2 separate regions of the Homo sapiens genome follow, and region 1 is linked to region 2. The links are contacts of gene promoters, found by promoter capture Hi-C in blood cells and fetal thymus (Javierre and others, 2016). All regions are on one chromosome and are shown on one strand. The core of a region is centred on a gene start or on the middle of the fragment in contact, and the rest is flanking DNA. Distances in the headings are between cores, read along the strand shown.

Region 1 (2,700 bases), core at 76-2,575, 390 kb after region 2:
GCTAGTAGGACAAGGCAAGCATACAAATGGGGTGTGATTTTATTCCTTCTGATATGGAGGGATCTCTCAAAAACATTGTTTTTTGAAATATGAATCACAATCCACTTAGGTAAGAAATATTCATTCAGAATCTCTGGAGGAGTGGGCATCACTCAAGATTCAGTCAGCAAAAAAGAAACTACACTAGGTATTTCAAACAGAAAATATTTAATGTAGAATATCAGGTACTTAAAAGAATCAGAAAGGTTAAAGAAGTAAAATCCAGGAGACTTACGCAGATAAGGTCATCTGGCAGTTGGAAGCTTTTTCATCCTCGTCTATGTTCTCTCCTTTGTTGCAGAAGCTGGAATCCTGTGAATTACATTTCCTAAACTTCTTGCCAGCAGGATTCTGAATATGGTTTAGGTATCACCAATGCTATGTATTTGTATGATATTTTTTAAATAGAAAGGAAATAAAAACTGTTCTTTATGTGGAATCTGGCAGATATAAAACAAATTTTTTTTCAGACCCTAGCATTCTTCTGTAAGTCTTGTACTCAAAGGCTTTGGAGGATCTGTGAGATTAGCAGTGGTTTTCTGCAGTTCCCTGACCTCTGTCTGACAGTAACAACTATATCAGTCAACAAATATATATTAAATTATGGAATTACTTTGTCCTTCTTAGGATCCACGGAAAATTCTGTCTCTGCCACTTTAACAGTAAAAAGAAGTGGTAGGATAATGCACAAAATAAAATAAAATTATTAGTTAATTTTCTCCCCATCCTTCAGCTGCATTTGGTGACATGCCATAACATGAAAATGCCACCAAACCTCAGTCATGCACTGTGACAATAAGCACACACTTCCCTTTCCCTCCTCTTATACTTATCATTGCTCTCAATGACAGTAATGTTATTAAGTGAATGCCAATGTAATTTATCTCACAGGAAAGAGGAGGTGGAATATAGCACAGAGTAGCAATTAAGGAAAGCCTGCTATGGGCCAGATGTTTCCTAGAATTTCCCAGTCTTCTCACAAAAGTGATGTTATATTGGGCTCATTAATTCCATTTAAAAACGCAAAACTCAGTCTCATGAGTGTAAATAACTTCTCCATGGTTCTTTACTTATTGATTAAAATGGTCTGTTTATATCATTGACCCACAGGGAGGAGACTGTATTAATTGAAATGAATTTCAACTACCAATCCCCCAAATCATAGAAAGGAAACAAGGGTGGGATTAGGGGAGGGAAGTTGCGTGTAAGGTAGGGGTAGAGGTGCTAAAAAGAAATGAGAGAATATTTTTGCATATGTGAGAAATCAGCAAAAAACAAAAAGCATACCAGTGGTCATTTCACTATATTTGCAGTGAAATATAAAATACCTCATTTGGAATAATATGGGGAAATTGAAAAGCCATTATCAACAAACACAATACATTTAAAGGCATCAGAAAATGGGAGAAATAATCCAAACAGAATTTAATAGCATATAAGTAATATGACTGACATAGGCATGAATCTGACTAGGTATAATAGTAATGTTTAATTTTATTAACAAATGATTCAAAAGTGAGAAGCAATGGCAAACATCCAAAGTTGTTTAACAATACTAAAATTAAAGACAAATAAAAAGATACATTGAGATATACAAATAATCACCTCCCAAAGGCACTACCACTTAACACTATTACATTGACAATTAAGTTTCAACATATGAATTTTGGGGAACATTCAGACAATAGCAGTATGTATAATGTGACTCAATTTTGAACAAAAATGTATTTGCACATATGAACATATAGCCTTGGAATTATATATAAACACACATAAAATATATCTGGAAAGTATATATGAAAATACTATGAGTAGATAGCCTGTGGTAAGTCAGGCTTAAGATGAAACTATATGCTAATTAATGCATATATTTCCCCATTGTTTCAGGATTAATAGTGATAGATAAAATTACAATAGTACAGGATGTACCTGGTAGGGAATGGAAGTTATAGAAATTTATCTTTATTGATATGAAATGTTGTCAAATGTATATACATACATATATTTAAATGAAAAAGAAGTTATACAGAACTTTTATAAAAATAGATCTGTGTATGCCTAATGTATTTGTCTCATAGTGTACACTTTCATATATTCTCATTCTTGTTCTCTGCTCCCTACCCTCATCACAGACACACGCACATGTTGTCAGCCTAGAGAGGGTCTGAAGGAAATATCCTAGCATGTGATTTCGTATCCAGATCTATGCCAGAATCACTCTTAATGTTTCCTTTCTATGTAAACATCTAGAAAGTTCCAGAACATTCTCACTGTTTGACTTTAACCATAGGGAAGTGTCTTCCTTTAACCTAAGCTTCTTTATAATTGGTTAAAGGAAGAATGTAGTTAGACATTGGTCACTTAATCATTCTGTGGAGTATGGAGTCGGTGAACGATTTCATCACTCCATTTTCCTTTGTTTCATGTGCCTTTCTGATCTCTGATTTTTATATTTTATGTTATTCATCCTCTTTATATCGCCATGCAGGTCTTGCTTTAAAAGGCATCAACTTTCCTTCCAGGTGGTGTCTAGAGTTGTTCTTTTGGATAAAAACTGTTCCCCGCATTCAAGTGACAATGAAGATAAATAAAAGTAATTTGACATGTAATAGTGTATATTAGATTTTTAAAATTTAAGACTGATCCTAAACCTAGCTAATA
Region 2 (2,700 bases), core at 64-2,563:
GAACAGAAAGCCCTTCGATGCATTGCTGTTACCTCTGTGGGAATTTGGGGAAGGAAGGGAAGGAGCCAAAGGTATTTACTCTGATTGGTCACCTGAGTAAACGTGGCATTTACCACCTTGGTCACTCATCTATATATATTTTTGGAGTGAACAATAGATGGGTGCCTGAATACAGGGGATGAGAGGCTATGGAATGTGGAAGGGTGGGAGGGCAGCACCTTCTTCCGCTCTTGACAGGGCAGGAAGGATTAGAACATCGCTGCATCCCTCACACCCTCAGGTGCCTCAGCCTTGGTAGACTGGAATTCAATTCAGAGGCAGGTGATCAGAGTAGCCATCAAATCACAAGAGGTTCATATAACAGTCGGTCAAGACTTTGGGACGTTAAATACATGCTTTTCTTTAATTTAATAAGACAGGGTTGTGTTGCTTTAACTTATCAAATTGCAAGTTGATTCAAAAATAGAAAAAGTAAGGAATTATTTGTGTAAAATGGCCAAGATTAGACAACTGGTCGTCTCTTTGTGGAGTAATTCATAGATCATGTAAAAAAAATCCATTTTTTTTAAGAGATAGAGGCTTGCTCTCTGTCACCCAGGCTGGAGTGCAGTGGTGACATCATAGCTCACTGCAGCCTTAAACTCCTGGGCTCCAGCAATCCACCCACCTCAGCCCACTTTTCAATTTTAAAATGAGTTATTTTGTTTTAAAAGCTACTAATTGGCTGTAACCAGTAGAAATATTTTCCTACTGTTACAAATAAAATAACGAAATTAATGAGGCCTTTTGGGTTTTCTCTCCCGTTTAAACTCTCCACTCAAAGGAAAATAGCATCATTTTATTTTCTCAATATAAAAGTAATGCGTTACTGATTTAAAAACAAATGAGCAGAAAAGTTTAAATAAGACACTCCCACGATCTATCTCCTTTTCTAACATCTTGCTCCACATTTTACAGGGGTGCAGAAGAAATAGGACATTCATGACTTGTGATGGGGGGAGGTATAGAGAGAGACAGTTGGACTGGGACTAGAGAAGATAAAAAATTATTCCTCGAAGAGGAAGAAAAGGCCAACGGACACGGGAGCAGATACAGCCTCTCCCTGTAAACCAAAGAAAGGCAAATTCACCACAAAGAGAAGCTACTTCTAGTCTCCGGGGTTGGCAAAGAGGAAAATGAGTGACAGGACCTGATGTGTCAGGGAAGGAAGGGGAGGGCCGGCTTCTGCGGCGCTGCTGATGGGAGTGGTAATTGGGGTCCTGATCTCATGGTTGACGTGGCCCTCACGTGAGCTGGAGCCGACGCGTGCAGACGTCCTTCTAATCCTAGTCTTCGTTTGGTCCGGTTGCACTCTTCCTATAGCCCAGAGGGCGAGAGGGCCTGTGGCCTGGGGGAAGGAGGACGAGGTTCTGCCTGGATCCCAGCAGGTTTGTGTGTGGATGGGCGTTGCCAGGGGATCCCTGCGGCGCGGGCAGTGAACCGTGGAGGCCGAAGGGGGAGCACAGTTCACTTTCTCCAAACCCTTGCAGTATCCCTTGCCCTTTCTAGAACAAAAATGGTAGACCTTGGGGCCGGATTCCAGGGGCGACCCCAGACTCGGGCGTCGTGGGACCTTTAACATCCAGGGCCTTGAATCAGGGAGGGCGGATATTCGGATTCATGTCCTGTGTGCTGGCCCATCTACCAAGCCAGAATCTTGGGGCTGTGCGTCTGACAGTCATACCCCTTTTCTTTCAGTAGGACGCTGTGCCATTTGGGAACAAAGGAATAGTCTGCCTGGAATCCCTGCAGGTCAGTGTAAAGCTGGAGCTGTCCCGCGGCGCCCAGAAGGACTGGGATGACTGAGGTCCTTGCCTTAACTTGGGCCCTTTACCGACTCTCAAGCAATCTTCCTGCCATTTTTTTTTTCTTCAGTAAAAGAGGATGTAACAGTGGCTGCAGGAAAAGTGCTTGTGATTGCGGGTAGGGTGCGTTGGGGAGAGGAATAGAAGAGATCGGTTGGTTTTGTTTTTCTCCTCGGATTTTCCATATCCCCCCTCGCCCCGCCCCGCTTCCAGTGGTTTGAAAGGGGTGTGGTTTTGCTGGGAAAATGGCCGACCGCTGGGGCTGCGGGAGGGAGTGAGGGCCGGGGGCGGGGACGGGGGTAGGGGAACACTACCAAGCGACAGGGCTGGTGTCAGCGGAGTCCAGAGAAGTGAGGGTAGGGTGAGAAACAAAAAGGTAAAATCCATTGACAGCCAGGACCCTGAATTAGGAGAAGTGGATATTGGGACTCCCCGAAGTGCTTTTCTGTCCGCTGAGCCTTCAGTTTCTGCCTTGTTGCCTGTGTCTGCAGATCTTGGGGCCGGAGGCCAGTCCAACCCTTGGAGCAGGAAGAAACGCAAAGTTGTCAAGAACCAAGTAGGTCATAATAAGGGTGATGGCATTATTTGGGGGTGGAGCATGGTGGCGACTGCAACTCGAATGGGCCCGTGGACCCCTTCCATATCCCCCTCCTTCCCTCTTATCTACACCATTTCGGAGCTTGCAAAAGAAATTGTTCTGCAAGTACAAGACAGGGAAGAAAATAGCTGAGAAGGGGTGGGCGTCAAGAGAGTCCAGGGGTTGGGAGGACGTTACTCCAAATTACTGTTTGGGGTACAGGGTCCTTGGTGTTGGTCCGTCGACCAAGCACTCACTTCTGAAGTTTGTCAGTCTTGA

The links. The method cuts DNA at HindIII sites, captures the fragments that hold promoters and counts their contacts. A CHiCAGO score of 5 or more calls a contact.
Region 1: a fragment that was not itself captured here is called in contact with the fragment with the promoter of ARMCX1 in region 2 in 1 of 17 cell types (monocytes); the score reaches 5.8 in monocytes.

What each region holds. Positions count from the first base shown.
Region 1 is chrX:101,934,676-101,937,375 of GRCh38, forward strand. No RefSeq gene overlaps it. Among named protein-coding and RNA genes, the nearest start is that of ZMAT1, 4.0 kb to the left of the region's middle. The HindIII fragment of the contact is 2,051 bases long and covers 301-2,351 here.
Region 2 is chrX:101,549,234-101,551,933 of GRCh38, forward strand. It overlaps ARMCX1 (armadillo repeat containing X-linked 1), which reads left to right and starts at 1,314. Exons shown (of 4, transcript NM_016608.2): 1 at 1,314-1,427; 2 at 1,738-1,791; 3 at 2,336-2,400. The HindIII fragment of the contact is 13,633 bases long and covers 1-2,700 here.